Linked DNA regions of Homo sapiens: region 1 is linked to region 2. The links are contacts of gene promoters, found by promoter capture Hi-C in blood cells and fetal thymus (Javierre and others, 2016). All regions are on one chromosome and are shown on one strand. Each heading gives the region's core, a stretch centred on a gene start or on the middle of the fragment in contact. The rest is flanking DNA. Distances are from core to core; before and after follow the strand shown. Region 1 has its middle 26 kb from the start of TRAF6. Region 2 holds the start of PRR5L (proline rich 5 like).

Evidence for each region. The method cuts DNA at HindIII sites, captures the fragments that hold promoters and counts their contacts. A CHiCAGO score of 5 or more calls a contact.
Region 1: a fragment that was not itself captured here is called in contact with the fragment with the promoter of PRR5L in region 2 in 3 of 17 cell types (endothelial precursors, megakaryocytes and M0 macrophages); the score reaches 7.3 in endothelial precursors.

The regions. Positions count from the first base shown.
Region 1 is chr11:36,534,165-36,539,101 of GRCh38, forward strand. It overlaps a transcript of RAG1 not described here. Among named protein-coding and RNA genes, the nearest start is that of TRAF6, 26 kb to the left of the region's middle. The HindIII fragment of the contact is 228 bases long and covers 3,318-3,545 here.
Region 2 is chr11:36,293,126-36,298,393 of GRCh38, forward strand. PRR5L (proline rich 5 like) reads left to right here and starts at 3,163. Exons shown (of 9, transcript NM_001160167.2): 1 at 3,163-3,313. The HindIII fragment of the contact is 2,178 bases long and covers 2,539-4,716 here.

The DNA.
Region 1 (4,937 bases), core at 2,182-4,681, 240 kb after region 2:
TTAAGCAATTTAAATTATAAGCAATTCAAATTATAGTCTTAGAAATTTTTCTACATTAATAAAATTTTCAGTTTCATTACCAAATAATTTTGTATGATACAGCAGGAACAGGCAAGATCCTTGCTTTCATGAAAAGTACGCTCTAGTGGAGAAAGAGAAAAAGAAAGCAACAAGAAACAAACAAAGCTTATTCATACAATAATAAACACCGTTTTGCTCACCAATTATTTCTAGTTTTCCTTCTGGCCATGGGAAGGCTGTACTGTCCTGCCCCCTTGGAGTTAGGTGTGGTCACATGACTTGTTTTCCCAGTGAAACGTGAGCAGAAGTCACATGTGTCACTTTAGGATGTACAATTTGCCATACTGGATATTTTCCACTGCCATGGCAATCCTCACTTCTGCCACATTTTATTGACCAAAGCATGTCAGAAGGCCAATCTAGAATCAAGGAGTGGGGAAATAGATTCTACTTCTTGTTGAGAGGATGTGCAAAGTTACATTGCAAAAGATGTAGGGAAGGGTGAAGAATTGTGACTGTTTTGCAATCAATGTGTCTACCACAATTATTTTCTCCTTTCATTTTTCTTTCCTTTTTAAAATTTATTTAATTTTTAAGCCTTTAAAAATTTTCAGTTGTATGCCTATTTCATTTATATTTTAAAAACTTATACATTTAGGTCTATCAATGTACATTTTCATAAGGCTTTTGGGGTATCCTACCAGTTCTAATGTGGTAGTGTTGCCCTGTAAATGGACTAAAATTATAATTTTACTTCTTTCTTTGATCTAATAGCCATTTAGGGTTATGTTTTAAAACATTTAGATCATCACAATTTTCTCTTTACCTTTGACTACATTATATTACATTTTGACTGGAGGATTGTTCCATAAAATTGTGTCATTTTGGAATGTATCAAGGTCTATCATGTGATCAATTTTTGTAAATATTCCATGGATTCCTGAAAGAAGTTGTTGGCATTTTTTAAAAATAGGGTGTAAAGTCTGAAATATATATATTTCAAGTTCAACAATTCCATGGATTCTGTGTCATTTTGGAATGCATCAAGGTCTATCATGTGATCAATTTTTGTAAATATTCCATGGATTCCTGAAAGAAGTTGTTGGCATTTTTTAAAAATAGGATGTAAAGTCTGAAATATATCTATTTCAAGTTCAACAATTCCATGGATTCCTGAAAGAAGTTGTCAGCATTTTTAAAAAATAGGATGTAAAGTCTGAGATATATCTATTTCAAGTTCAACATGTTAATTATAATATATGCATTGTTTAAATATATACTCACATATAGGCCAGATGTGATAATCCCAGCATTTTGAGTGGCCAAGGTGGGCAAATCACCTGAGCTCAGGAGTTCGAGACCAGCCTGGCCAACATGGTGAAACTTTGTCTTTACTAAAAATTCAAAAATTAGCCAGGCATGGTGGCGTGTGCCTGTAATCCCAGCTACTCAGGAGGCTGAGGCAGAAGAATTCACTTGAACCTGGGAGGTGGATGTTGCAGTGAGCCAAGATAGAGCCACTGTACTCCAGCCTGGGCAACAGAGCAAGACTCCCTCTCAAATAAATAAATAAATAAATAAAATAAATAAATAGATACACACATATAATTTATTACATAGTAGTGTGTTTTCTTATTACAAGTGAATTTCTGTCCATTTATAGTCTTTTTTTTGTTTTAAATATTTCAATGCTATATCATTAACCCATGAAAAATAATTATTGTTAGCTCATCATTGTGGATTATGTATAATTTAGTTTCTGGTCTCTATCAGGCATTCATCTCTTTCAGATCTGCTAGACCAGGTGGATATCTATCAAGTTCTCTTTCTTTCCTGCAGAGTTAACTAGGTGAGTCTTTCACTTCTTAGGGAAGCTAAAGTAATAAAAAATAGAAACAAGTGAATCATTTGTAGTAAGAAATATAAATGGATGGAAGTCACCTATTACAAGGGAAGGATAGGATTAAAACATCAAATCCAATTGTAAACAACTTAAAAAAATCTAATGAAATGAAGTACTATTAGTTAAAACTGGAAACAATTCAAATGGCTACCCACTGTAAAATGCTTAAGTAAATTTTGATATATTATACAATACAATATGGCAATGAAACCAACTAAAATAGACCTATACACAACAAATGGGCTGGATCTTAACCATCATGTTGAATGAAAGAAGCCAGAAAAAAAATTTATTGCTCTTTTATTTATACAAACTTCAAAAATCTTGCTCTTAGGGAGGTATTTATAGGTATTAAAAGTCTAAAATAAAACCAAGAAGCATTCACTCTTAAGATGTGAGTAAAAAGGAGCATCTAAGATGCTGGTAAGATACTATTTCTTGATTTGTGTGGTAGTTCTATGGGTATTTGCTTTATAAACATTAATCGTACTGTGCATAAAAACATTTTGTATGTGTAATATACTTCAAAGTTTTTTAAAAGACAAATAAGAAGAAAAATAGCATAGGTAGGTGAAAGGATGAGGATATATAAAGTAAATAAAATATTTATATTTTATAAAGTAAATAAAAATTTTATATTTATACTACATATATAAAGTAAATTTACTTATGTATTTATTTATTTTTTGAGACGGAGTCTTGCTCAGTTGCCCAGGCTGGAGTGCAGTGGCACGATCTCAGCTCACTGCAAGCTCCGCCTCCCGGGTTCACCCCATTCTCCTGCCTCAGCCTCCCGAGTAGCTGGGACTACAGGCGCCTGCCACCACGCCCGGCTAATTTTTTGTATTTTTAGTAGAGACAGGGTTTCACCGTGTTAGCCAGGATGGTCTCGATCTCCTGACCTTGTGATCCACCTGCCTCGGCCTCCCAAAGTGCTGGGATTACAGGAGTGAGCCACCGTGCCCGGCCAATATATTCACTTTAAATACAAAACAAACAACAACAATAAAACAATTCAGAGGCAGAAATCATTTTCCTAACTTTAGTAGAAATAAAAAATCTTTATACCTGTTGAGCCTCAGTTATGTAAGATGAGTAAGTTCTAGAGATCTGTTGTACAACCTAGTATCTATAGTTAACAATATGGTATTGTGCACTTTAAAATATGTTTAAATAAATATGTTTAGGCCTCGTGTTAAGTGTTCTTCACACAAAAGCAAAACAAAACAAAATGTAAAAGAACATAAGAAAATTTTCGGAGGTGATAAACATATTTAGGGTCTTGATTGTGGTGATGGTATCATGGGTGTATATACATGTCAAAACTCATCAAATGTGTACATTTTTGTGCATCAATTTATATTTTTTTAATCTATCAGTTATACCTCTGTAAAGCTTAAACAGAAGAAATCAAATAAAATATCAAATAGCATAGAAAAGTCATTTTATATTATCATACTTCCTTATCTTTGTGCTTCAAAGGTAAGTATTTTTCTTTGAAAAAGATTTTTTCAAGATCCTTTGTTATTCTTTAAATTTTAAAATTTTAATAACTTATGCCTTGAGGAGATTTCTGATCATTATCTTTATGAGAGTATGGTGATAAGCCCTAAAAAGCTAAAGCTTTGTTTTAGCTCTGGAAAACTGACTTTAATTACATCTTGAATAATGATTGCATTACATTTCATTTGATTTGATTCAGTTATCTTTGGGGGAACACCCACCATTTCTTGGATGTCTTTTCACCATTTCACTTATCCTATAGTATCTATCTCCATTTTTTTCCCTGATTATTTTCATCTCTTTATTCATTTCTTATGCAATCTTAGATCGTTCCTCCAGTTTGTCTTCTGCATTACGTTGTAAAATTGTCTTTTAAAGCATAAATTTATTTTATCCCTTCTGCTTGGGTGTTAGTTTCATTGTACTTTCTTCTTGGCTGATCTTCTTACCAAGGCCCTTACTTGTTCAATGGAGGCAAGTCCTTATAGGAACAAAAGTAAAAATGTTGCAATTTTTCTTCTGTTTTAGAAAAGCCTTTTCTACTAAAGTATTTGGTCATTAAAAATGTTTTTCCTTGTACTGTAGAATTTCTTCATAGATATCACATTGATTTTGTTCTATTACTGATCCTTGAAAGAGGAGAATTCTATGTAGAGCTAGTAGTGTTAAAGAACAGTATGCTGCCTATTTCTCCTATCACCATTCAGGGTGCCATCCAGGGGCCAGCTGCAGTCCCAAATGCTAGCTGCAGCTCCTGCTTGGGTGTAAAGCCCAAATCTACCACATATAGAAAAGGCAATGCTAGCTTTCTTTCCAAATGCAAAAGCAAACAAACTCACATTGAAATTGTTCTTGCTCTATTCGATAGGTTATTATTTGGAAGAATAAGAGCAAATGGGGTAGGTTTTTGGTTTGTTGTACACTTTGCAGGTTCCTTTTAGTTTCACGCATTTTCTTTTAGATGGTAAAACAAATACATGTTCATTGAACTCAGCATAAATCTTACATGCGTCTAAAGCTGCAGTTACGAAAAGGCACAGTGAAGTTTTCGAGCGGTTTTTTGAGGAGTCTTTAACCTTTTTTCCTCTGGCTGATTTCTTGGTTAGTGCAGTGATGCGTGGCTGAAATAAATTTTTATTCTTGCCTTTGAAGTCTGCTTCTCAAATACTTGTGACAGCTTCTTATCTGAGGCGGATTTTCAATTCAGCTTCATGCTCCAAAGCCTTTTTGCTCTGGGCTGCCCAGTTCATCAGGGTCACCTCCCTTCCCACCCATCTCCAAGCTGGAACCTGTCCATGGGGCTGTCCTGTCGCTCAGGAAGAGGCCTCAATTCAATCATTAATGCACTTTCTCTTTTCTCCCTCCCCTTACTTCTCAGTCTTTTTCTTCTGTTTTTCTTCCAGGCAATTTTCTCTGCAAAAATTGATGAATGGATTGAGACTCTTGTGGATTGAATTGTGTACCCCTCACATTTGTGTACCCCTCACATTGAAGCCCAACCCCAGTGTTA
Region 2 (5,268 bases), core at 1,913-4,412:
ACATTTCCCATGAATTGGATCATATGATACGGTTTCTCCTCTTATACTAAGTAAAGGAAACGAGTACAAAAGACCACATATCATATGTTTTGTACTCGTTTCCTCTACTTAGCATAAGAGGAGAAACTTCTTCAAGGTTCGTTCATGTTATAGCCTGTATCGGTACTTCATTCGTTTTTTGCTGAATAATATTTTTTTGTACAGATATACCATAGTTTGTTCATTCATCAGTTGTAGACATTTGAGTTGTTTCTACTTTTTAGCTGTTGTGAGTAATGCTGCCATGAGCAATCATGTACAAAGTTTTTGTGTGAACATGTGTTTCATTTCTCTTGGAGTATACACTGAAGAGTGGAATAGTGGAGTTTCTGGGCCATATGATTACTCTGTGTTTAACCTTTTGAGGAAGTGTAAGACCATTTTCCAAAGTGACTGCACCATTTTACAGTCCCCAGAAGCAATGTATAAGGGTTTCAATTTCTCCACATCTGCACCAACATTTGTTTAAAAAAAAAAAGAGACAGAGAGATGGGGGTCTCTGCTCTTTTACCCAGGCTGGAGTACAGTGGTGTAATCATGGCTCACTGTAGCCTCAAACTCCTGGGCTCAACTGATCTTCCCACTTCAGCCTCCTGAGTAGCTGGGACTACAAGCATGCACAACCATACCCAGCTAATTTGATTTTATTTGTTTTAGAGACAAAAAATATGTTTTGTCTCTAAAACATATGTTTGCTATGTTGCTCAGGCTGGTCTCAAACTCCTGGCCTCAAACGATCCTCCTGCCTCAGCCTTCTGAGTAGCTGGGATTACAGATGGGAGCCACTGCATCTGGCTCTGCCTTTTTGATTATAGTGATCCTAGTGGGTATGAAGTAGTATCTCATTGTGAGCCGTCTTGTTTTGAAGTTGCATTGGTATATCAAACACATTTTGTAACTGGTTCTGTCTTTTTGATTATAGCAATCTTAGCGGGTATGAAGTGGTATCTCATTGTGAGCAGTCTTGTTTTTAAGGTGCATTTGCATAGCAAACACATTTTGTCACTTACGCTACTTTGGTTCATTTGAGGTAACTGATGAAGGTTATGGAAGCTTAAATAAACTCCTATTCTCCCCTTTGGTTTCACTACTAAGTCCTGGCTGCCTTCTTTGTCAGAGGAATGCCTGCAGGAGGTGGATTAGGCCCAGGGTCCTGCAGTCCTTTAAGGAGAGCCCTTGCCACCCTCCTGTTATTCCCCTAGTTTCCCTTTTCCTCACCTTTGTCTCAGTCCAGAGATGAGGGTGGGTTGCAGGGGGAAAGGGCTGATCAATCTTTTTGACTTTATGCCCCCTTTGTGGCTTTGACGTGGCCTGATCAGCTCACCAGTCGTCTTAGTCCATATGGGCTAATATAACAAAATACCATAAACTGGGTGGCTTTATCAACAACAGAAATGTGTTGCTCATAGTTCTGGAGGCTGGGAAGTCCAAGACCAAGGCATTGGCAGATTCTATGTTTGATGAGGACGGTTTCCTGGTTCACAGATGGTGTCTTCTCACTGTGTCCTCAAATGGTGGCTGTGGGCAAGGGAGCTCTCTTGGGCCTCTTTATAAGGGCACTAATCCCATTCATGAGGGCTCCACACTCATGACCTAATCACCCCCCATAGGTCCCACCTCCAAATACCATCACCTGGGGGTGAAGATTTCAGCATATGAATTTGTGGGGGACGCATACACTCAGACCGTAGCGCAAGTTGGGGACAAAAGCTCTGAGTGTCAGCAGGGTTGCACTGGCTTGGAAATGCTGGAAATCTGGAAATTTCCAGATCAGGCATCACAAACTGCATGATCTAGGGCTCACATTGCATTAACAATGTTGTGTTTGGTCCACAGTGTTTCAAAATTGGAAAACTCGACATAAAAAATCCAGCCTTCTGGCTTTTCTTTAAAAATGTGCAGGCCCAACCATGCTGTTTCCACCTTTCTGCATTGCAGTATTTGGCTGAGGCTGAGCCCTGGCTGCCCTCTGAAGACTGGTGTGAGCTTTCAAATCCCCACAGTTCCCGCCACACACTGTTGCATCACAGTGGGCCCTCTCCACACATTTGTCACCTGTCTCATACTTGAGAATATTTATTAGTGCCCAATTCCTTCAGGGACCTAACAGGGTGAACTTAGGCCATAGTAGGTAACAGGGCTAAATACAGACACTTGGGATCCTGGCTTTCCAGCCATCCCCATACCATCTCCTCATGAGTACAAGCAAGTTTCAGGTGTAATGTGGGCATCTAATTTGTGATTTGTGGTTCTTGATCACTTTTATGGGCCAGCCACTGTTCTAAGAGTTTTGCATATATTAATTCATTTAATCCTCCTAGGAACCCAATCATAATCCCGGTTTACAGATGGGAAAACTAACACCCAGAGAAAACACTTGCTCACAGTCCATGGGTAATAGTTGCAGAGTCAGAATTTGAAGTCAGGAGCGAATGAGGTCATTTTGCAAGGTTGCTCATGACCTAGTGTCTGGTTCATTATGGGGGTTCAGTGGGTGCAAGCTTTATAATATTCATCTAGTCTTGCCAACTGCTGCTAACGTGCTGCATGGCTGAGGTTTAGTCCCAGCCAGATGTCCCATCACAAAAGTTAGGCATTGAAGTGGATGACATTTGTGTTTAGAGAAATGATATGTCTCATTCTTTTCAGCTCTAACTTGGGGTAAGTTTCTGAAAGCAAGTAAGAGAAAAGGAGAGGGACATTTGTGATCTCTCATGTATAGAAGACTAACAAAGAGGCAGGTGGTCACACCTGAAGGCACGTCCCCTGACCCTTATTACATAATGCCATGGGCTAAATGTCCAAAATTCCTCTCCCAGCTCTGATTGGCCTGGCTACTATGATGAGTGAAGTCCACCAGGGAAGACACTGTGGCCTCGTTTCTCATCCTCCTGTCCCCAGGAGTAACACAGAAGCAGCTAGTAACACAACAGCATTGTCCTCACATACACAGGCCTGCTTTGTTTCCCCACCACACAGAGCAGCCGCTGTAACAATGGCCCCGAATGACACTTTACCCTCCTTTCTCCAATGTTGCACTTGTTTTTTTAGTCTGGAATGGGCTAAACAATGATTTCCTGCAGGGGGTATCAGCTTTTTATATTTTCTGCCTGCTTCTCTGTCAGTCTTCAGGCCCCAGGTCAGTGAGTGGCAAGCCAGGCCCAGAGATCTCTGCGCCCGTTGGAACATCCCCTTCTCGGGAGGCTGGAAGGCCATGGTCATTCACCTCTCCCCAGCAAGGTGGGACCTGCCCTGGAAGAAGAAACCAGACCAGGTAACACAAGAGAGACAATGAGAGCTTGGGGCTAGGGGGTGGGGTTGCAGGGGATGGCTGAGTATCCAGCCCAAGGAGGATGGGTTTCTGGCTTCAAGACATCCGATTTTCTTGAAAGCCACCATCTGCTGTTAAATAAATAATGAAAAGCAACAGAGGTCAAGTTCAGCAGCCTCCCAGTTAGAAAAATACCCTCTGTCTGTCTGGCCCTGTTCAGTGCCTCTGATATCTCTGGGTGACCAGGGTCTTCATGGCCCATGTAGATTTACTGAGGTGGCTGTTGCCTTAATAATAGCTGCTAGTACTAAGCTCTTTCTCTATGTATTGCATATGTATACCTATTACTGTATGTCTCTCATTGAATGAATAGTAATGATAGCAAACCCTTATACAACATGCCTCAGATTCTTGCTTCTTTCAAACCCAGGGAGTCGGGTTCTAGAATCTGCGCTTTTCGTCATCATGCCCCTTGTAAAGCATTTTTTTTTACAACATCCTGCTAATAAACCAAGGTCATCACAATATTTCACTTTGAGAGGCAATGATATATGATGATAGCTATGTGTATTGTGAGTCCTTTGCCCTGTGCCAGGCAGCATTCTAACTGTTTTGCAGCTATTTCATCAGATAGATACTTTATGATCTCTATTTTATGGATGAGGAAATTGAAGTACGGATAATTTAAGTCATTCACCCGGGGTCACACAGTTGTTAAATGGCAGAGCCTGGATTTGAATTCAGTTTTCTCTTAAGTAGTATGGGAATCTTAGACCCGCCCAGCCCTGCTGGTCTGGAGTTATTCTGCTTCTCTAGGTCATGGTGTATAGAGGGTGACATTCAGTTTCTGGCTTCATAGAACATCTGCACCCAAGTTGACAGCTTAAGGAATTTTTTCGTTTGTTTATTTTAAATGATTTTTCTATTGGCATCAGCTTTTGTCTTGCTTGAAGAAGATGGAATTGCTCAATGACGACAGTGAAGGAATTTGAAAGGGTAAGAATTGCTCAATGAGTGGTATCTCTTTTTTGGCCAGAGACCAGGCTAAGTTGCCTCATATGTAAGAGAACATACGTCAAATACACAGGACTCATGGTATATTATGGAAGCAAACTTTATTTTTGCCTATCATTGTCCCTAATTTTTTTCAGCAGGTCCTCCCTCTTCCCTTGCCCTGGGATGAAAATTAAGGTAGGTCCACAACTCTTATGGGCCCCCTTCAGGAATCAAAAGTTCTTAAGTCGCTTTTAGTTCCAGCACAGCCTCATTCAGCAATTGGGATGTCCAGTCCCAGGGAATCAGCCAGATCTTTGAATTTGGTTCCCAGTGGAGACTTTTCTCCCTCCTCCAGTGGGGCCTGCAGCTTGGAAAGGGGGTCTGTGGTTGGCTTCTCATTTCCCACGTTAAGCTTCCATCCTTCTCTCCTCTGGCTTACTGATGATTCTGACTCCTGGCAGGGGGAAGGGGAAAAGAGAAGAGGCAGGAAAGGAGCTGGAAGTCCGTACTTGGTTAATGCTGTGGCAAGCTGGCATTTCAGTGGCAGGTTCTGGTGGGTGTGTAAACCTAGTTCTTTCTCTCTAGGCACAATCTTGTGGATACTTCAGAGAGCACCATTATTTCTCATCTTTGGGGATCTCTGAGTTGCTGGTCCCTTGAAGCTGGTTGCCTAATAAGACTCCTTCCTTAGTTCCCTGGCATCTAAGCAGTGCCGTATTAGTTTGCTGGGACTGCCATGACAAAATATCACAGACTGAGGGGCTTAAACCAGCAGTCCCCAATTTTTTTGGTACCAGAGACCAGTTTTGTAGATGACACTTTTTTCCACAGACCAGGGTAGGGATGGTTTCAGGATGATTCAAGTGCATTACATTTATTGAGAACCTTATTTATATTATTATTACATTGTAATATATAATGAAATAATTACACAATTCACCACAGTGTAGAATCAGTGGGAG